Regions from separate parts of the Homo sapiens genome. Here regions 1, 2 and 4 are each linked to region 3. The links are contacts of gene promoters, found by promoter capture Hi-C in blood cells and fetal thymus (Javierre and others, 2016). All regions are on one chromosome and are shown on one strand. Each heading gives the region's core, a stretch centred on a gene start or on the middle of the fragment in contact. The rest is flanking DNA. Distances are from core to core; before and after follow the strand shown. Region 1 has its middle 24 kb from the start of RNF24. Region 2 overlaps PANK2 (pantothenate kinase 2). Region 3 holds the start of CENPB (centromere protein B). Region 4 has its middle 5.0 kb from the start of RNF24.

Region 1 (5,120 bases), core at 2,586-5,085, 250 kb after region 3:
CTAGGTTTAAAAATGAGGGAAATAGAAAAGCACCATTAGGCAAACCTATAGTAATAATGGTTGCAGTAAGATTCACTGATAGTTGCTAAAAGTATTTTTATTAATTATAAAGGAAAAAATGGCTGGGTGTAGTGGCTTATGCCTGTAATTCTAGCACATGGGGAGGCTGAGATGGGAGGATTGCTTGAGATCAGGAGTTTGAGACCAGCCTGGTCAATAGAGTGAGACTTCATCTCTATTGTTATAAAGAATAAAACAAAATTTAAAATAAATAAATTTTAAAAACGTTTTAAGAAGGAAAAAATATAAAAGTGGAGAAATCCGGTAAATACCACCCTAATCAAGTGATCAAGGTTAGTATTACTAGTAATAATTGATACTGACATTAGGTACTCCCTGATGTGATGCCTTGAGTTGAGCACAGTATCATCTCTTACATCAATCTCATCATGATAAAACACTAGACAAACCCAGACTGAGATGGGGTTCCACAGACTCCTACTCAGGTGTCAGAATTAGAACCCAGAGCCCATCATCTTTCCACTCTGGGCAGGAAAGGTATGGAGGCCAAGGGTAGGGGGATGCCTCCTTTCTGGAGGGAGGCACTGCTGACTGAACGTGTACCCACCTCAGTACGTGGGACTCATGACTACAGTGTGCTCTGTAACTAGAAACTACATCTCTTTGCCTGAGGGCATTCTCCAAAGCACAAAGGTGGTTCTGTCTGTGCTGGCCTTCCCACTCCTTTTTTTTTTTTTTTTTTTGAGATGGAGTCTTGCTCTGTCGCCCAGGCTGGAGTGCAGTGGCATGATCTCGGCTCACTGCAACCTCCGCCTCCCGGGTTCAAGTGATTCCCCTGCCTCATCCTCCCGAGTAGCTGGGGACTACAGGCATGTGCCACAATGCCCGACTAATTTTTGTATTTTTTGGCGGAGACTGGGTTTCACCATGTTGCCCAGGTTGGTCTTGAACTGACCTCAAGTGATCCGCCCGCCTTGGCTGGTATTACAGGCTCTTGAGATTCTTAAACACATCACATCATAAAGTCCCTTGTGCCATGTGAGGTAATATACTCACAGCTTCTGGAGATTAGGATGTGGGCATCTTGAAGGGTATCATTATTCTGTCCACCACATGCCCATGGTCCAGGGTTCAGAATAAAAGGGGCTCTGAGTTGGCAACATCTGCCCAGAGGAAGCCAGTGCTGTGAGAAGGGGAAGGTGGTACAAGGGGCTATAAACTAAAATGCAGAAATACAGAGGAAGACATATTTCAGTGGTTACATAGCATGTGGTGTGTGTATGCGTGACTGTGTGTGTTTGTGTGCATGTGCGTGTGTGTCTGGGGGAAGGAGGTAGAGGAAGTGAGATGATGGTGACAGTGACAGCAGCTTGGAGAAGACAGGGGGGTGGGTCTACTTCTGAGGAAGTCCTTGGCTGAGGTAGGGCCGCAGAGAGGCAGGGTGAGGGTGGAGCCTGTGGTTTCAGAGAGGAGTTTTAATGGCTGCCAAGAATGTGCACATGAAGCCGAAAGGGAGTGCGGCCTGGAGCTGCAGTCAGCCCAGAGGGCGGGTGGAGCCTGTCCCAGGGCACTAGGATCGCAGAGAACGACAGGAGGGAGCAGGGCTCTGTGAGCAGGGAGAGGAAAAAGAGAGAAACTAGGTTTGTGATGGAAAATGGGCTATGGTTTCATAATTGGAAGTGCCTGTGGGCAATGAGTATAAATGGAGGGTTTGGTAACACTTGGGGAAAAATTATTAATTTGGAACTTCTATAAAGCCTTTTGTCTCCTATTAAAAATCCTGTGGGTACCAAGTGAATTTCATCATTTAATTCTCTCAATAAACAATGAACTGCTACTTTGCATGGGACAACATTCTCTGGAGATGCATACAGTGAACAAACAAGGTGAATGAATGGACTCAGGGAATTAGGTGTCACAGGCATAGAAAGGCAAGGAGATGAAGGAGTAAGTCAGCAAGAGGATGATGGAGGCAGAATCAGCTTTCCCCAGCAGGGGATGACACGGGGTTTTCGATATCACCTGCCCGGGGAGGCTTGCCCATTTCCACTCTCCAGCCCACCTGCCCAGGGGATAGGCTTTGAAATGTATATTCCCTACTGTCCGCCTCCTTGGAGCCATTCCTTCATTTCTTCCTTCCTCCTCTTCCTCTCCCCTTGTCTTCCTTTGCCTTGGAGCTTGGGAGGCTCCAGGCAAGAAGAGGGGGACTGCGGCATCTTTCTCTTGCTTCCCTCTCTTCTTTCTACCCTTTGGATCCCATTCAAAACAGATAAATAGAGGTCCACTGTGGGCCTGGAATCATGCAGGGGTTACAAGACGGGGGACTCCCATGACCAAGCGTGATTCTCCAGCAAGGGGATTTCTGGGAGCCCTTAGCAGCTGACACATGCAGCAGCTGGGCCAGGGGTGGACCAGCCTGTTAAGGGGATCTGTGTGGGGCACCAGTATCCTCTACTATAGCAAGGATGTGGAGTAGCAGATAATCTCACACCCTGCTATAGATTGGAATAAAACTTTAGAAAGCAATTTGCTAATATTGTATAGAGAGGAAGACACACATGGCCTGTGACCCAGCAATTCCACTTCCAGTCACATACCCAAGAGAAACTTTGCATGTGCATGAGGAGACAAGGAATGTTCATTGCAGCATAATTTGAAAAAACAAAAGCTGGAAATAAATGAAATGTGCATCTTATAGGAAGTTGGATCTATTCACGTAATGGAATACAGCAGGTAAAATAAACAAGATTTATGAGTATCATCAGAGATAACTCTAAAAGCATGATGTTGAGTGAAAAAAGCATGCTACCAAATGATATATATAATGTTGCCATTTATTTATGTATTATTTATTTATTTATTTTTGAGACTGAGTCTTGCTCTGTCGCCCAGGCTGGAGTGCAGTGGCATGATCTCGGCTCACTGCAATCTCCGCCTCCCAGGTTCAAGTGATTCTCCTGCCTCAGCCTCCTAAGTAGCTGGGACTACAGGCGTGCACCACCATGCCCGGCTAATTTTTGTATTTTTAGTAGAGACAGGGTTTCACTATGTTGGCCAGGCTGGTCTTAAACTCCCGACCTCAAGTGATCAACCTGCCTTGGCCCCCTAAGCTGCTGGATTACAAGCTTGAGCCACCGTGCCGGGCCTAATGTTGCCATTTATATAAAGTTTAAAGACACGCAAAACAATACGTTTACATATATATGTGTATATATGTATATATGCATTTATGTATGTATATATCTGTGTATATATAGTAAACATATATGTATGTAACATAGTAAACATATATACACACATACACAAACACACACATATATAGTAAAAGTGTAACAGCATGCTTGGGAATGCTAATACTCAATATAGAGTAGTGGGACTTGCAGCCAGATTGCTTGGATTTGCATCCTAGTTCCTTTTCTTACTAGCTGTATAATCTTGGAGAAGTTATTTAACCTCTGCAGGCCTCAGCTTGCTTATGTGTTAAATGGGAAATGCCAATTGTATCAGCCAGCAATTGCTGCCCTAATGCTGTGTAACAAACAACCCCTAAGCTCAGTGGCTTTCAACCACAAGCAGTTATTTTCTATCCACAAGCCTGTGAGTTGGCTGTGGCTCTGCTGGACTGGGCTCCAGGAAGTGGCTTAGGTTCATGTCTGCTCCACGTGTCTCCACCAGCAACTATCCAGGGCTTGTTCTTTTCAGGGCAGAGGTCACATGCATGGGTGGCTGCTGAAAGCACATGATGCCTTCTTGAGTCTTTGGCCCAGAACTGGCATATTGCTTCCACCCACATTCCAGTGGGGTAGGGAAAGTATACACCACCCACAGTGATCCAGAGCAAGGGCAGCAGGAGAAGGAGGTACTGGGAGCAAGTAATGGTGCAATAGTGCCTACCTGCTTTGTTTGAAGCATTAAATGAGTTAATGTGTGTCAGGTGCCTGGCACATAGTAGGTGCTATATTCTTACTAATCAGGAGAATGATGAACTCTGGGAGAAAGAGGAAATTTAACTTATCCATTAAATTTCTTTTTTAAAAACAAAGATCATAAAAAGAAAAAGAGGGAAAAATATTTGCTTTCAGAAGAGAAAGCGAGAGAGAGAGAGAGGACACGAATGCTGCAGACTGAACCACAGGGAGCATTGGCATTCAGGAAAAAGAGGAAAATGGAAGACTTAATTGTAGACTCCAGGAGGCAGGGACTGTGTGTGGCCTCACTCATTTCTCTGTCCCCAGCACCATGTCTGACACATGGTAAATGCTCCTAAGGAGCACAGGGAAAGAAGAAACAATGATAGAGGCAGAGGTTGGAGAGAATCTGAGAAAAATGAGAAGCTCTCACCCTAAAAGCTAGAGGAGATCGTTAAAAGGGGCTGGATAGCTGCCTTGTGGACTGGTCAGCAGTGGCCATCATCCCACTCTGGACCCAGCCTCACTGTTGGGTCTGGTGTTCCAGGACACAGGGGACAGACTTGCTATTTCATTTGGTGAGTTTTGTCTCAGGCCAAGCTTCTGAGTAGTAGGAGGTGAAAGGCCCAGTCCCCCGCTATTGATCTCTTAATTTCAGCATCCTCTTCTCTCCCTTTTCCCTTTGGCTGTCCCTGATTCTCCTTTTCAAATCTCCTTCCAGCCTCCCACTCCTCGGGTCCCCACTGCCTGGAGGAATATGCAGAGGCCAAGACAGAAAGGAGGCTGGGCACGGAGGCTCACACCTGTAATCCCAGCACTTTGGGAGGCCAAGGCAGGCAGATCACTTGAGCCCAGGAGTTCAAGACCAGCCTTAGCAACATGGCAAAACCCTGTCTCTACTAAAAATATAGAAACTAACCGCTGTGATGGCACGCACCTGTACCTGGGAGGCTGGCTTGAGCCCTGGAGGTGAGGCTGCAGTAAGCTGTGATCGCACCACTGCACTCCAGTCTGGGAGGTGGACTGACGAGTGTTGGGGGCTCTCAGAGACCAGGAGGGGGGCCAGGATAGAGCCCTTCTTCTTTGTTTTCCTACTTTGGCCTGAAAAGCTCCACTGAGCCTTCATGAAGGGCAGGCAGCCAAAGGCTGGGGAGAAGGTGGACTCATTTCCTTGTAAATTACGTGGTTATG
Region 2 (5,527 bases), core at 315-2,814, 130 kb after region 3:
GCCTCTTGTTTAACCTTTTCCTAGGTAGAACATGGAGATTAGTTTTTTAAGTTAACCTTAAAAAAAAAATAGGCTGGGTGCGGTGGCTCACGTCTGTAATCCCAGCACTTTGGGAGGCTGAGATGGGCAGATCACCTAAGGTCAGGAGACCAGCCTGGCCAACCATGGTCAATGTGGCAAAACCCTGTCTCTACTAAAAATACAAAAATTAGCTGGGCGCAATGGCGGGCGCCTATAATCCCCAGCTACTCGGGAGGCTGAGACAGGAGAATCTCTTGAATCTGGGAGGCGGAGGTTGCAGTGAGCTGAGATCGCACCACTGTACTACAGCCTGGGCAACAGAACGAGACTCTGTCTCAAAAACAAAAACAAACAACAACAACAAAACAAACAAAAACACCAAACAGGCCAGGTGCAGCGGCTCACGCCTGTAATCCCAGCACTTTGGGAGGCCGAGGTGGGCGGATCATGAGGTCAGGAGTTCAAGACCAGCCTGACCAACATGGAGAAGCCCTGTCTCTACAAAAAATACAAAAATTAGCTGGACGTGGTGGCACATACCTGTAATCCCAGCTACTTGGGAGGCTGAGGTGGGAAAATCTCTTGAACCCGGGAGGCAGAGGTTGCGGTGAGCCGAGATCGCACCACTGCACTCCAGCCTGGGCAACAAGAGCGAAACTCCATCTCAAAACAAAAAACAAAACACCAAACCGATATCATCATAATAGTTATAAGCCTTCGTGAAATTCTTGGTTGCATTTTGTCCTTATTGCTCGCTGACTTTGTTTTTCCCACTGCTTAGCTTTGCTGGTCCATTTGTCCCTGTGTTTTCCATTTGCATTCAGGCCTTTGACTCTTGTGTGCATCTCTGCCCTTGTGGAACTTTGATGATTATTTTATTTTATTTTTTTATTTAAGTTCTAGGATACATGTGCACAACGCGCAGGTTTGTTACATACGTATACATGTGCCATGTTGGTGTGCTGCACCCATTAACTCGTCATTTACATTAAGTATATCTCCTAATGCTATCCCTCCCCCCTCCCCCCACCCCATGGCAGGCCCTGGTGTGGGATGTTCCCCTTCCTGTGTCCAAGTGTTCTCATTGTTCAGTTCAGAACTTTGATTATTTTAGCCTCTCTGAGCCTTGAAATATTTTCTTGCCCTCACATTGAAGTCACTTTAACTTTTGTTGTGAAAGCTTCGTATAGATTCTCTCAAGCGTTTCCTCTTTGATCCTTTATTCTCATCTTAGCACGTTGTAGTTTATAACCACCTGTTTCTGTCTTGATAGTAGCATCCTAGTCTTCAGTGGACCCCCCCCATATATATATATAATGGTTAACTGTATCTTCTATATTTTTATTATAAAATAAAAGGTACAGAAAGCTGCCTAAAACAAACTGTATAGTGAACTATTAAGACAAACAGCCTTGCCTCTGTATTTCAGCTGTGCCTTGTCCTGTAGCTGCTGGCCGCCTCACATCACAGATTGGTGTGGCTGCCTTTATTTTATTTATACACACCAAAACCAAAGATGGTCAATATGCCTTTCTTTTTTTTGTTTTTTGAGATGGGGTCTTACTCTGTCAGCCAGGCTGGAGTGCAGTGGCGCAGTCTCGGCTCACTTTAACTTCTGCCTCCTGGGTTCAAGTGATTCTCTTGTCTAAGCCTCCTGAGTAGATGGGACTACAGGCACGTGCCACCGCACCTGGCTAATTTTTGTATTTTTAGTAGAGACACGGGGTTTGCCATATTGGCCAGGCTGGTCTTGAGCTCCAGACCTCAAGTGATCCACCTGCCTTGGCCTCCCGAAGTGCTGGGTTACCTGTGAGCCACTGCGCCCAGCCAATATGCCTTTCTTTTAAATTGCCAACTAGAGTGTGACAAGAAAGCCTTTGGCCTCTCGTTTGATCAGGTTTCTTGAAGAAGCTTTTCGTGAAAGATAGAGTGGTAGTTATTTATGTTTCAGAGACTTTTAAAAAATCCATACACAAGTCTTTCAGGATCTTCTCATTCCTTTTTTAGTTATTTCTTTTAAAAAGTAGTCTGATATCTTACCTTACAGGTTGGAGACCCTGATGGATTCTGCATCGTTTTAGGATTTGCCTCTGATTCTTGCTAGTGTTCTCTTTTCTGTCATTATGGGGTTTGCCCCGTTTTCTCTAATGTGCTATTCCTGTGTTTTGGTTTTGAGTTCTTGGTTGCATGTGACCTGACTGCTTCTGGAGACAGTACAGTGCTTGTCGTCTCTCAGCTGCTGCTTCTGTGTCTCAGGAGGGCTGAGGGCTGCCCTCCCTCGGGAGCCTCCGTGCTTCCTCAGGCTTTGCTCTTTGTTCTGTACCTCTCTTCACGTTACCTTTGGGTGGTGGTTTTCATTCCTGTGCCGCCTGCTTCTGGGCCAGTGATCCAGGTGTCTGGTGACCACCCGGGCACAGCTGCTTGGCTGCTGTGGGCACCTCAGCTTCCCATGTCCTGTAGGGAACTCACCCACCGGCCTTGCTCTCCACACCTCTTACTCCTGTGTCCCCTTTCTCGGGGATGCTGCCCCCTCCTGCTGTCCTGTCCTCTGTTAGGGGTGAATCTTGAATCCATCTTATCTCTTACTCTCCCTCCCTCTCCCAGCTCAGTCGGGCTCTCACCCTCTGTGACCCACCTCACAACTTCACCTGTTTCATTGCACTTTGCATCCGACCTCGCCTTCATTCCTTAGTTGTCTGGAAATGCTCCAGGCCTCTGCTGCTTCTCACCTCATTCCCCAGAAACAGTCAGGTTCTGTCTCTTACCAGAGGTAACTGAGCTGCTGCTGGCCTCATAGCTCCTGTCGCCCTCACTGCGGGTTTGGTTTTCCTCTTATCACAGTGGTCTGAAGTGCTTGGATAGTCTAGGACATCCAGCCCCCTCCCCAGACAGGGACTCCTTAGGGCGTCTCTGCTCCCAGGCTGGCCTTGGCCCTTCTGGGGTGCTCAGGAAATGGGTATGCTGTGTGTGGGCAGTGGTTGGCTTTAACACTAGTCATCATGTGTAAGGTGATTTGAATAAGTCTAAGGAAAATTGCACTTATTTTTGGTGTATTTTCTTTCAGGGTTATTTTGGAGCTGTTGGAGCACTCCTTGAGCTGTTGAAGATCCCGTGATCATTACCTGGGGAGGGGTTCCTGAAACCTTCCACAATGGGATCTGTGGACTTTCATTTTTTTAAGAGACTTACTCAATTTCATGACTGTACTACCTGAAACAAAGTGAGAAAGGACAGGTGTATTTTTCTAAGTCATCAAGATAAATCCTTAAGAATTCAGTCTAAATTAGCAACCAGGAAGGAAAAATATATTAAAAACAACAAAAAAGTGGCACATGTCCAGGCAGTGTGAGGATTTGCTGTATATAAGTTGCCTGCTTTGTATTTTTGAAATCTCTGCATCACTCATTGGAAGTGCTTCTGAAGAGAGCTGCTCTGTGTTCAGTTGACTGGTTTTGTGTCCTGTTTGAACTTGCTGAATGTAAGGCAGGCTACTATGCGTTATAATCTAATCACAATTTGTCAATATGGTCTTGGCAATCATCTGTGCATTACTCTGGTTTGCATTAAGCCTGTGTGTGAACTTACTGTAAAACATGTTTTATTTCAAGGTTCTGCAAAATTAATTGGGCAGGTTAATTGTGTACCTGAAACTTAACAAGCAGTTTTTGGAAGGGCAGTTCCACGTTACTTTACACTAAATCCTGGGAATGAATGTCTGGAGAGACAGGGCTTCTTTTCTTGGCAGAATTTCCTTGGGTAGTGGGCGGACTGTTCTGATGCAAGTGGGTACACTGGCAGAAGCAGCACAATCTGGAGGACTAACATGAGTCAGCAGGGCCACTAGAATTGACACCCCCTCAGGGGATCAGGGAGAATCTGGTTTTTCTTTCAGGCTAAGTAGAAAAGGAAGAACTGAAGTGTCTGTCAAAGAACTCATGGGGAGTGGGGGGTCCTTCAGGGCACTGTGGCACTTGGGAGGTGAGTCTCAGAAGACTGCCTGAGGAGAGTGCCAGGCTGCAGGTGCTCTTGGTAGGGGCTGAAGCTTTTCTTTCTGCTTTGCAGAATAATTTCAAAAGCCTTTCCCAAGGAGAGAATGCACCTTTTATATCTGAGGTCTTAAGTGGTGCCCATATTGCTGTTGAAGGCAAGGATGGGCCTGTACAAAGCAGCCTTGGACCAGGAGGGAAAACCCCAAGGCTCTGCAGCCTCCCTGCTCCCCTCCGTTTAAGGCTGTGGTCAGGGAGGGATGGGCAGGGTGCCAGCCGCATGGAGGCAGCAGAGACACCCGTGTTCCAGCTGGGGCAAGGGGAACTGATATGTGGGCTGTGGGCTGTTCCACTAGGCGTGGCCACCTCTGCACATGGGCCTTGGCACTTAGGAAATATGGGTGCTGCTGCATTGGGACCTTGTGTGGGTGCAGAGCAGGATGGCTGCTGCGTGGAGGGTAATTTTGTCCCCTGGAGAGTGATTGGTGACCCTCTTCCCTGCTGCTGCTGTTTGCAGGCTCCTGGCCTATACTACCTCTGACGCCCTGATCCTGAGTTCCTCTGCCCTCCTCTGCTGCCAGCAGCGCTGTTGGTGGCCTCACCCTCCTCCAGTACCCAGGCACCAAAGATGGCACCACCATCCTCCTGCTTGTACCACAGGGTGCTGCTCCCTGGGCCAACTCCTGTGAACTTGCTCACTTCCCATGGAGACCGAGGCCAGGGCCTGCCCCTCTGAGGCCCCTGTTTTGTGGTCCTGCTGCCTCTGCTGTGCTGCGTTCAGGAGGTTGTCCACTGCTCGACGTGGGTCACCATGCAGCCCTTGCTGTTCCCACAATTTAACAGAAAAGGAAACTGAACGGATGAGTAAGGCTGCCCAGGGTCACTCAGCTGGAAAAGAGTAGAGCTGGACTCAAACCCGGGACTGTCTGTCTCTGGTGCCTGAGTTGGGAAGACGCTGTTGATGTCCCCTTCTGCCTCGCTTTGAGCTTCCTCCTCCGTGGGCCCTCCCCCTACTCTAGAGAAACTAGTCCATTCCCTCATGTTCCACCTTGTGCTCAGTAAACCCTGTCACTCCACAGCAGGGTTTTTGAGACAGTCTCGCTGTGTCACCCAGGTGGAGTGCAGTGGGGCGATCTCAGCTCACTGCAACCTCTGCCTTCCAGGCTCAAGCAATTCTCCTGCCTTAGCCTCCTGCGTAGCTGAGACTACAGGCATGTGCCACCATGGCTGGCTAATTTTTATATTTTTAGTAGAGATGGGGTTTCACCATGATGGCCAGGCTGGTCTCGAACTCCAGACCCCAGGTGATCCGCCTGCCTTGGCCTCCCAAAGTGCTGGGAATACAGGTGTGAGCCCCTGCGCCCGGCTCACAGCAGGGTTCTTGATAGGCCACCAGTGAATCCCATGCCACCGAATCTGGCATTCATTTCACAGCCTCATCTCAGTTCTCACTCAGCAGAGCCCTCTTGCCTGTCCTGCCACCCAGGCTACTAATGTTCTGGTTCATTCTCTGCTGACAG
Region 3 (5,618 bases), core at 2,370-4,869:
GGAAACACAGAAGTGATGTGCCAGCCTCAGGTGAGGTGGGAAAACCGGTTTGGGGCCCAGAGCTGCCAGCCATGCTCAAGCCCAGGCCCTCCCTTGGTTGGAACTGCTGGGGCCTGAGGGCCTCAGTGAGGAGGGGTAGGGAGGGAGGGGCTGGCTCTGAAAGGAAAAAGGGTAGGATCAGCAAAGGGACCTGACCTCACCTTTGTACTGGGGGCCCCCTGGAAGGCACTGCACAGGGAGTTACCAACCATCCTCTGCCTCTTGGGGGTGCAACCTGTTCCTAGCAATTTCACCTTCCTCCTGCCACTGTGCCTAGAGGTGGCCACCAGGCTTGGATATGCCAATCACTGAAAGGCCTAAAGGGCTCCCTCTTAAGGCACCAAAGGTAAACCAAAGGGTGACCTATATGCCCCTCCAAACTCCAATCTGGACCCCAGAAGCTGCCCCAACACTCCTTTCTTTCTGTCCTGACCCCACTCCTGCAAAGGCCTTCAAACCAGCCTCGGTAGGCCTAGTCCCCACGTGCATATTGATTTGCCCCCAGAGACTGATGGCTCCCTCCTGCCCCAGCCAAGTGACCCCAAGCTTGAGGTCTCCTCCTGCCCCTCTTCCGGTCAGGGCAACCCTCTCAACACTTGCCTCCATGTCCCACCAGAGCAAGGACCAAAGAGAGCCAGGACGAATAAGTCCCCCAAGACAGACGCAAGCCCAGACCATGAAGGATGCACCCTTGGCTGTTAAAACGTTCACCCCCACAAAAGGGGAGTGGACAGATTTATTGAAATCAAACTGGGAAAGGAGCAGCTGGACGGCTGGACTCTGGGCCCAGCCCCAGGCCCCTCTGCCCAGGATGGGGCCCTGCCAGAGAGGGAGGAGAGGCATGGGGCCTGCAGCTGCCCACAAGGAAGCGCCCTTGGTTACTTCCACGGTGGGGGGCCTCTTGGAAACCTCCAATCTGGAAAGAAAACCAAGGGCCAAAGTCACATGGACAGGGCCAGAGAAAGGGACTGGGGAGGTGGAAAGCAGGCAGAAGCAGGCTCAGGAGCCCGCAGTGAGTTAAACTGTGCTTCTCAAGGCGGCCTGGGGGGTGGGGGTGGGGGCTGCCAGCCTTGCAGGGGGCCTAGGCTGGACCTTCTTCTGGAGCCCTTCCCAGAATGGCTTTGGGGTCCCCCCACCAAAGACCTGACGTGGATGGCAGAGGGGAGAGGCACTCTCCGGCCGGGAACCTCCAGGGCCCATCCCTGGCTGCTGCTGTGGTTAGTCCACTGAGGGCACGGTGTGGTAGCACCGGACAGCTCCCCACCCGCCCCACCTGGTCCCCTGAGCCCAGGGCCAAATGGGGAGGAAAGAGGATTCTGAGAAAGAGGCAATAAGCAGGCAGTGAGGCTGACCTCAGCCCCGGGCCCGGCCGAGGTGACCGGGCCTGTTGCAGGACCAGGGGAAGCATTACTAAAGGATCTGGGGCTCTGCACTCTGGCTCCATGCACAGCGGGTGCCCAGAGAGTCCTCTGCCCTGGGGTGGTGCTGCCAATCTAGGTTGGGGGCACAGCTAGGTCCAGTGACTCAGCTTTGATGTCCAAGACCTCGAACTCCCGCCTGCCTGGCGTGGTTCTTCCTGGTCACATGAACCAGATCGTGTTCCAAGTGGAGGATGTGGCTCTGCACGCGGTCATCAATGGGGAAGGAGGTCAGGTACCTCTTGACCATGGCAAAGTAAGCCATGGCCTCCCCAAAGCTGGGTACAGGCACCTCATCACCATCCTCCTCATCATCATCGTCGTCTTCATCTTCATCATCCTCTTCCTCATCGTCCTCTTCCTCACTGTCTGAATCAGAGTCCTCCCCACCTTCCAGGAAATGCAGAGTAGGGCACTGGGCTTCCTCCTGGGCACCATAAGCCCCGAAGCTGCCACCGGCCTCCACTACTCCCTGGGCCCAGTCCTCAGCCTCCAAGCCCTCCGAGGAGCTCTCCTCATCTTCCTCCTCTTCTTCATCACTATCAACATCACCCTCCTCCTCCACCTCCTCTTCCTCCCCCAATTCCTCTCCTTCCCCCCCTTCCTCCTCCTCCTCCTCCCCTTCCTCCTCCTCTTCCTCTCCTTCACCCTCTTCCTCCTCCTCTTCTTCCTCCTCCTCCTCCTCTTCCTCTCCCTCACTCTTGAGGGAAGTGGTGATGGTGGCATTAGGGCCACCCCCAAAGCCAGCCTCACGAAAGCAGGCGGCTATGTCCGAAGGCTCCACTGCCTGCCAGGCGGCAGCCACAAAGTGCAGGGCCTCCGTGAGACCCAGCTGCAGGCCTGAGGGATCCTGGCCCTCTAGCGCGGCCATGGCCTTGAGCAGCATGGCCTGGCGGTAGTGGCCCTTCACCTGCTGGACCACTCCCCTCTCCAGCGGATGCACGGTGCCGGGAGGGAAGAAGGCCAGCTGCACATGCCGCAGGCCCGAGGTGTCCAAGGACTGGGCAGCCAAGCGGCCGGCCAACAGCAGGACCCGGCGAGACTCTGCAGCCATTCGGGTGTCCAAGGCCTTCAAGTACTTGGCCAGGGCCTGGGTGGTGACACCACCCTTGGAGTTGGCGGTGTAGTCGCAGGGCAGGCCGGCTTGGCCTGCGCGGGGCTTGGCCGACTTGCCGGCCACCAGCGGGGGCAGCTTCTCGCTGCCGTCGGCATTGGCGCATAGCAGGACGCTCAGGCGCTGGGTGGCTTGACGCGGCCGTCCGTCGCCTCCGCACAGCCCCGCGGCCTGGTCGGGCAGGAAGTCGTACCATAGACTGGTCTCGGTGGCGCTGAACACGTCCTGCGAGGCGTAGCCCTCGGCCACCGACGGCGGCTGCTCCTCCCGAGCGCGCCAACCAGTAGTGCTCCCGCCACTGCCCTCCGAGGGCACCGCGGCCGGACTGGCAGGCGCCGCCGGGGTGCGGGGGGCAGCGTTTCGCGCGCGGGCGCGGGCCACGCCGCTGCAGGACACCACGCCGTGGCGCCGGCGGAAGCGGTCCAGCCAGCCGTTGGAGGCGGTGAAGTCGTCCATGCCCAGCTCCTCGGCTATGCGCAGCGCCTTCTCCTTGAGGATGATGCCCTTGACCGGCAGGCCGGCGGCGCGGATCTGCTGGAACCAGGCGATGAGCAAGCCCTCGAGCTTGTCGTAGGGAGACAGCTTGTTGGTCTTGCGGCAGGTGGAGGCCACCCCGTACTTGCGCTCCGACGCCAGGATGGCGCGCTTGTTCTTCAGGATCGTGCTCAGCGTGGACGGCGGGATGTTGAAGCGCCGCGCGATCTCGCCCTTGCGCAGGTCCGGATTCTCCTCCACCTCCTGGATGATCCGTGACTTCTCCCGGAACGTCAGCTGTCGCCTCTTGGGGCCCATCCCGGCGCGCCCCCCGCCCCGGGGCCCGGCGCCGCCGCCGCCGCCCCGGGGCGGGGGGCCCGGGCCCGTGGCGGGGGGCACCTGGCGGCCTCTCCCGCGCGCCCCGCCCGAGACAAAGCGGCTCGCGGGCGCGGCGGCGGGGCGACGACCCGGCCGGGCCGGGGGCACCTCCGGGGACGCCGGCGGGCGCGTCGCCGGGCGGCGGGCGGCAGGCGACGGGCGCAGACGAGGGCGGGCGGCGCGGGCGCGGAAGGCAGGAAGTGCCGCGGCGCGGGGAGCTGGGAGCGCGGCGAGCGGGGCGGAGCGGGCGGAGCGGGATCTCGCGGGAAGCGCGGGGACGCCCGGCGCCTCCTCCCCGCCCTCCGCGCCCACCCCCTTCCCGCCGCCGGGACATACCGCGGGGGGGCGCTGCGGCCTGCTGGACCTGCCCGTGCTGCGGCCTCCGGCGACCCGGCAGCGACGCGGGCGGGGACGCGGTGCATCGCTACTGCGCCCGGCGGACAGCGACTTGCTGCTCAAAAAGAATAAGAACCAGGGTTTTTGTTTGTTTTTTTTTTTTTTAATTAAGGTAAAAATAACGCACTTTTTTTTTTGCGGAACCTGAAAAATTCAAGAAGTTGAAAAACGCTTTTCACGTCACCTGGAGAGATGCACAGGTAACATTTTGATACATTTCCTTCCAGTCTTTTCTCTAGATGCATGTCGTTTTCTTTTTAAAAATTTATTATATAAAACTGGCATCAGACTGTATAGACTGTATATCTGGCATCTCCTGCTGTTTTACCTGGCATCAAGTAGTGAGAATTTTGCCATATCGGTAAGTATCATTGCCAACACGCTTTTTAATGATTGTGTAGCATTCCAGCTATGAATGAACACTAGCGTATGTAACCTATTGTTACACACTTAAGTTATTTTTAAAATCAGCATTACAGTTGTAAATCTATTTGATGGTGCTAATGACATTTTTAAAGTTCTAGTAATCCCACAACCCATAGATAAACACTCATAACATCTTGGTGTGTCACTTTCTGGGCTTTTCCATGCATATAGCCATAAATGTATGTGTTTGCACTTACAGAAATAACATCATGTATATACATAAGTGTGAATCCCTGAAGCCTCCCTCTCCTGCAGCAAAACATTAAAATGCCAAGCTCTTAAAACAATGAATGTATAGCTGTGTTTTTAAAAATCTCTTAGGGCAGCACTAAGGGGAACTCCAGCATTGGCAGAGGGGAAGGCTGTGACCCAGGGGGACAGGCTGAGGACCTGGGGCTGGATGAAGCTGTGGGTGAGTGTAGACAAAGAAGAAAAGAGGACCAAGGACAGTGCCCTGGGTCCTCCAAGGTTAAGGGCTCAAGAAAGAGGCCAGGTGCAGTGGCTCACGTCTGTAATCCCAGCACTTTAGGAGGCCGAAGCAGGCGGGACCACTTGAGATCAGGAGTTCAAGACCAGCCTGGCCAATATAGTGAAACTCCGTCTCTACTAAAAATACAAAAAATTAGCCAAGTGTGGTGGCACTCACCTGTAGTCCCAGCTATTCGGGAGGCTGAGGCAGGAGAATCGCTTGAGCCTGGGAGGCAGAGGTTGCAGGGAGCCAAGATCATGCCACTGCACTCCAGCCTGGGCAAAAGAGTGAGACTCCATCTCAAAAAAAAAGAAAGAAAGAAAGAAAGAACCAAATAGAGACTCTTGAAGTGGAGGAGCCCCTGAAGCAGGAGAAAAACCAGGCTACTGTGGCATTCTGGAAGCCAAAGGAAGAAAGTGTAACTCACTGCTGTTTTAGTGCAAATTTCTGTTTTCGTATGTTTCTTGGCCATTTGAATCCTGTGAATTTTCTAGTCATATCCTTTGACCATGTGTTTGTCTTTTTCTTGACTTTTAGGAGCTCTTTACATGCTCTGAAGAAAAGATCTTGTTAAGTATGTTGCAAATGTTTTCTCCCTGTCTGCCACTTGTCTAAGTTAGTTTAGGGAATCTTTTGGATATGAGAAGTTTTTAATCTTCAACCTGTCAATTTTTTCCTTATTGCTTCGGGGTTTTGTGTCTTACTTAGAGAGGACTTCCCTATCCCTGAGATATAAAAGATATTCTTTTAATCTCAAGGTCCAAAAGAACACGTGGGAGACTTTTCCAGAGCACTGCTTGGCCCAAGAGGAGTGTGTGGTCACTGGGCAAAAATGAATCTAAGATTACCTGGATGAGAACTCCTTGCCATGCATCTTTTCTTTCTTTCCTCTCTTTCATCCTTT
Region 4 (5,566 bases), core at 101-2,600, 230 kb after region 3:
GAAAATACTCTGTGTATGATACCATAATGGTGGATACCTGTCATGACACATTTGTCTAAATCCATAGAATGAATAATACCAGCAGCAAACTCTAATGTAAACATGGATTTTGGGTGATAATGATGTGCCAATGTAGGTCCAACAATAGTAATAAATGCTCCCGTGGGAGAATGTTTATAATGGGGGGGCTATGTATGTGTAGGGGGGAAGGGCTAGTTGGGAACTCTGCACATTCCTCTCACTTTTGTGGCAAACTTAAAACTGCTCTAAAAAAAAGTAAAGTATTTACAAAGTCATTTTTGATAAAGTATTTTTTTCTGCCCCCACTTATTGACAGACTTTCCTTGAGAATCCCCACCTGTGCCCTGTACCCACTTCCCTCTCAGCACTAGGCACCCTCCAAGGTCCCTGCTCATTTGCATATTTTCTTACCACACCAGCATGTGAGTCCTTCATCAGCAGGATCAGTATCTCCCAGGACCTAATATGTGACTGGCACATAGTGGGTCTGCTGTGGCTATTGGTGGAGGTGATGTTCCCTGGTGGGCTGGGGAGGCTCCACAGGAGAAGGAAAGGCTGAGCTCCTTTTCTTTCTTCTTCCTTATTTTGGCTTCCTTCCTCTGCCCTGCGTTTGGAAACCTGTTTTGTTTGTTTGTTTAGAAAGCTTGGCTAGTAATTCACTAGTCCAATCAGGCTGTAGGGTAGAGGATGGAGTGGCTCATTTCATGTCTTTTGTTCTTGAAAAAATTAGGGGTGAGTGGGAAAGAGAATGAGAGAATGAACGGAAGGAGGAGGGGCCGTGTCCAGTTGCTGTTTTCAGGGAGACTCATCTTATTAAAATTTTGCTGTGTCATCAACTGGCCCAACTGGTTTTTAGGGTCAAGGAGAAAGTTTTCCTTTGGGACTGGACAGGTGGAATCTGGCCTCACAGTTTCTACAACATATGGCAGGATCCTGCTCTTCTGTCCCCTGTAGCGGGTTGTCCCGTGTTCCCCTTAAGGAAGAAATCACAGTTTTTGTCCTCCTGGTGCTTCCGGCTGGAGGTTCACCTGCTAGTCCCTGATCCTCTTTGCTTAGTGATGCACATGAGTCTACTCATCCCCCCACCACTCCCAGCCCCCACTGGTCTAGGCAAAATGCAAGTGATGGGAGAGTGTGGGTGGGCAATTCTTTCTCTGGAGGGTTTAGGTGGGTACCTCAAAACAGCAGGCAGCTAGGACTTGAAGTGGTGGCTTCGCAGCTAACATTTTCCTTGTTCCACATGATGGGTAGGGGTAGGGTAGGGAAGACTTCACTGTTTGGAGTTTCGGAGGATGCCCCTCTTTCTCTTTATCCTTCCTCCCCACAGTCCCCTCCCATCTCCTCCCTTATACCTCTTTTTTTTTTTTTTTTTTTTTTTTGAGATGGAGTTTCGCTCTTGTTGCCTGGGCTGGAGTACAGTGGCGCCATCTCGGCTCACTGCAACCTCCATCTCCCAGGTTCAAGCAATTCTCCTGCCTCAGCCTCCTGAGTAGCTGGGATTACAGGCATGCGCCACCACGCCCAGCTAATTTTGTATTTTTAGTAGAGACGGGGTTTCTCCATGTTGGTCAGGCTTGTCTCAAACTCCTGACCTGAGGTGATCCACCTGCCTCGGCCTCCGAAATTGCTGGGATTACAGGTGTAAGCCACCACGCCCAGCCCTTATACCTCCTTTTAAGCAATGTCCTCACCCCAAATCCATCTCAGAAAATTGTCCCTACCCATATGGTCAGAAGTCCTTCAAGACTCCTGGAAAAGAAATCACAACTACTTTTAAATCAAACGTCTGACTAATTTTGGAACAGTGAGAACAGGGGCTGGTTTTAGTCATCTTTGGATCAGGTGCCCAATACAAGTTTGTTGAATGAATGCCTGACTGGTCAAGACAAAATCAGTCTTTCAAACAGAAGCTAGAAATCAAAGGTTGCCTATAGCCCCATTCCTCTGTCCATCCTCCCCATCTGTTGAGATGGCACGATTTCAGAAAAACATCCCTCCCACTGGTCAATCCTTTGAAAGCTTAATTATTCAGAGTTCTAAATGACCCCTTTAAGGGTTGATCATATAATGCTTTGACCCGTTGGACTGTGCCAGTAGAGGAGGAGATGTTCTGTGTTCCCCGAGCCTCTTCATCCAAGAATTCCAAAGTGACTCCTCCTGCCTTGATCCCTCCCAATGGCCCTCTCCTCCTCATAGCCCATGGGGACCTCTTGCTGGGGCGTGACGCTGCCCACGGAGGGGTGGAATTGCTTCTTCTTTTTTTTTTTTTAGATGAAGTCTCTCTGTCGCCCAGGCTAGAGTGCAGTGGTGCAATCTTGGCTCACTGTAACCTCCGCCTCCTGGGTTCAAGTGATTCTCCTGCCTCAGCCTCCCGAGTAGTTGGGATTACAGGCACCTGCCACTGCGCCCAGCTAATTTTTGTATTTTTAGAAGAGACAGGGTTTCACCATCTTGGCCAGGCTGGTCTCGAACTCCTGACCTCAAGATCCACCCGCCTCGGCCTCCCAAAGTGCTGGAATTACAGGCATGAGCCACCGGAATTGCTTCTTAATGCAGAATGTGTGTGCAAGACTGTGAAACAGCAAGAGTTGGGGAGAAAGCGTAGGTTTCTGTGTGCATGGTACCTTTAGGACTGGCTGTGTGTCCACCCACAAGCCAGCGAAGGAGGTGGGAACCTGGGATTCTGTTTACCCAGCCACCAACAAGCCCCGTTGCCTTTCTGGCACACACAAGCCCAATCACCCAGAACTCCTGAAAATATAAATGTTCTCAAGATCTCATGTGGGAGCTTTTTAGCTGAGACCAGCCACACATGCAGGAGACTGGAAGCACTATTTCCCAGGGGTGGAACAACCTGCTCAGACTCACTTTTAGATTGGAGGATACCCATCTCAGCGTGGATTCTCCCAAGAACAGATCTTAAGACAAGGGCTTGGATGTAGGTAATTTACTTGGGAGGTGATTCCAGGAAATAAGAGTGAAGAAATGGGGAAAGCAAGCTGTGAAAGGGAGAGAAGCCAACAGTAAGGTATGCTGATGGGCCAGTTACTGCCATGGGCAACTGAGGCTCAGTCTGGCTTGGCGTCCACTGAGAAACCTTGTAGAACAGCCCTCAGCATTGTCTGCCTGGATGACCAGGAGGCCAGAGTATTTCTCCACTGACTTCAGTGTCTTGGTTGCTTTTCTTTTCTTTTTTTTTTTGAGACGGAGTTTCGCTCTTGTTGCCCAGGCAGGAGTGCAGTGGCATGATCTCAGCTCACTGCAACCTCCGCCTCCCGGGTTCAAGAGATTCTCCTGCCTCAGCCTCTCAGGTAGCTGGGATTACAGGCATGCGCCACCATGCCTGGCTAATTTTGTATTTTTTTAGTAGAGACGGGGTTTCTCCATGTTGGTCAGGCTGGTCTTGAACTCCCGACCTCACGTGATCCACCTGCCTTGGCCTCCCAAAGTGCTGGGATTACAGGCATGAGCCACCGCGCCTGGCCCTCTTTTCTTTTCTTTTCTTTTTTTGAGACAGAGTCTCACTCTTGTCACCCAGGCTGGAGTGCAGTGGCGCCATCTAGACTCATTGCAACCTCTGCCTCCTGGTTGTTCAAGTGATTCTTGTGCCTCAGCCTCCTGAATAGTTGGGATTACAGGCGTGTGCCACCATGCCCAGCTAAATTTTGTATTCTTAGTAGAGACAGGGTTTTGCCATGTTGGCCAGGCTGGTCTCAAAATCCTGGCCTTGAGTGATCTGCCCAGCTCAGCCTCCCAGAGGGTACTTTCAAGTTACATCTATGGAACAAAGCAAGCCGCTCTGCTAAGCTCCTCCAGTTATTGATTACACAACCCCCACAGCTGTGACCACCATTTGGCTACCACCATCATCACAGCTTCTGCCCCTCCAATTTCCCCCAGCCAATTATATCACTGCCTTTTCTCTCTGCTAGGTTCTGTTAGGCCTGAGCTTTAAAGAGAAAGGAATAAAGTGGAATGATATATCTTTGCCCATAACTCATTCTAGGAAAAAGGAACTATGCTGGTTTTCTTTTTCCTCCATTTCAACCTATCCAATCTACCCAAATAGTTCCCAATCATTATCACCTCATCCCAAAGCAACAGACGGGAAAGAGGAACAGGGCAAGAAAGCAGACAGGCTTTCTGGAGTGACTTTTATCCCCACAGAGTCATAGATGCAGAGTTGGAAGAGATGAATTCTCTCATTTGGGAGATAAGGACACCATGCAGATAAAGAGACTCTGTATCTTCTGCTTTTCCTGCTGCTGCAGTGCTTCCTCCAGGCAGGCTTCCTTAGTTTTTCTTGGCTTCCTACCCTTCCAACCTACGCCATCATAATCTGGACTCCAGCCCTTTATTCCCTCAAAGGCTGACTCAGGCCATGACTGAGGGAAGAAGCTTGGATTCTGTAGTGGAACAGCATTGTCCATGGGGAGACACGGCTTCCATCCCAGGCCTTTGGTTCCATTACTTAGTTTCTCACTTGCCTGTCTGTCATCCAAAGGGGCTCACAAGGAGGGGAATGCAGGGAGGAGACATCTCCCTAATACCATTGGAGTTTTTTTCCAGGTTAAGATGGTGCATTGAATCCACCCATCTACTTTTGCTCCTCCCAAAACTCACTAAAACTATTATAAAGGGATTTTGTTTAAAGACACAAACTCATGAGGACAGAGAGAACAGAGTAGACAATAGTGGGGGAAAAATAAGTTGGAAGATAGAAAACAGATGGGTGAGTGGTAATCGACTCAGCAGCCCCAAGAAAGCTGAAACCCAGGGAAAGTTAAGAGTAGCCCTATTTTCATGGCAAAATCCAAGGGGGGGTGGGGAAAGAAAGAAAAACAGAAAAAAAAATGGGAATTGGCAGTCCTAGATATCTCTGGTACTGGGCAAGCCAAAGAATCAGGATAACTGGGTGAAAGGTGATTGGGAAGCAGTTAAAATCTTAGTTCCCCTCTTCCACTCTCCGAGCAGCAGGTTTCTCTCTCTCATCAGGCAGAGGGCTGGAGATTTCACCTCCGGAGAGAGTAAAAAGGAGGATCTCTGGGCTGGGGCACCAGGCGTGGCTGAGGACAAAGGTGGCATGTGGAGAACAGGGGCGTTAAGTGACTATTTCCTCACTGCATGCTGAGAACCTCAGCTTTCTTCTCTGATCACTTCCCAAATCACTGGCAGCTACTCTCCACCTCTCTTCTCTGAGCACTCTGACCAGCCAAAAGGGAAAGAATGAAGGATACTGGCATTCAGATTTCCAGTAAACGACCATCCATGTCTCCCTACGGTGAATCACAGTTGACAAGCCCAGTTCCTGCACTCAGGGTTTTTCATAGTCCTTTACTCTTAATCAAGAGCAGAGAGCTAAAGATTATGTCTTAGGTTCCCTAGAAACAGAAGCTGTGATGCAGATTCAGATGCATGCGATTTATTGCGGGCGGGCCCTCAGAAGAAGCTCCTTTTTCCACCTCCAGAAAGAGCATGGAAAGGAACTGAGCAAGGATGTGGTCTTGGCTGGAGTCTAGCCTCAGTCTGACCCACAGGGAGCCCT

The links. Contacts are between HindIII fragments. The CHiCAGO score rates a contact against its expected background, and 5 or more counts as called.
Region 1: a fragment that was not itself captured here is called in contact with the fragment with the promoter of CENPB in region 3 in 3 of 17 cell types (naive CD4 T cells, erythroblasts and non-activated CD4 T cells); the score reaches 5.7 in naive CD4 T cells.
Region 2: a contact is called between a fragment that was not itself captured here and the fragment with the promoter of CENPB in region 3, in 1 of 17 cell types (erythroblasts). The highest score is 5.5, in erythroblasts.
Region 4: a contact is called between a fragment that was not itself captured here and the fragment with the promoter of CENPB in region 3, in 12 of 17 cell types (naive CD4 T cells, activated CD4 T cells, non-activated CD4 T cells and 9 more). The highest score is 8.6, in naive CD4 T cells.

What each region holds. Positions count from the first base shown.
Region 1 is chr20:4,036,803-4,041,922 of GRCh38, forward strand. No RefSeq gene overlaps it. Among named protein-coding and RNA genes, the nearest start is that of RNF24, 24 kb to the left of the region's middle. RefSeq lists an enhancer at 1,142-1,191. The HindIII fragment of the contact is 1,383 bases long and covers 3,145-4,527 here.
Region 2 is chr20:3,920,159-3,925,685 of GRCh38, forward strand. It overlaps PANK2 (pantothenate kinase 2), which reads left to right. Exons shown (of 7, transcript NM_001386393.1): 7 at 3,086-5,527. The coding sequence ends at 3,136. Among named protein-coding and RNA genes, the nearest start is that of MIR103B2, 5.4 kb to the left of the region's middle. The HindIII fragment of the contact is 731 bases long and covers 1,200-1,930 here.
Region 3 is chr20:3,783,121-3,788,738 of GRCh38, forward strand. CENPB (centromere protein B) reads right to left here and starts at 3,620. Exons shown (of 1, transcript NM_001810.6): 1 at 731-3,620. The coding sequence starts at 3,363. The coding sequence ends at 1,564. It also overlaps a transcript of CDC25B not described here. RefSeq lists enhancers at 2,316-3,026, 2,992-3,131, 3,027-3,736 and a silencer at 3,572-3,921. The HindIII fragment of the contact is 5,522 bases long and covers 584-5,618 here.
Region 4 is chr20:4,017,750-4,023,315 of GRCh38, forward strand. No RefSeq gene overlaps it. Among named protein-coding and RNA genes, the nearest start is that of RNF24, 5.0 kb to the left of the region's middle. The HindIII fragment of the contact is 1,376 bases long and covers 663-2,038 here.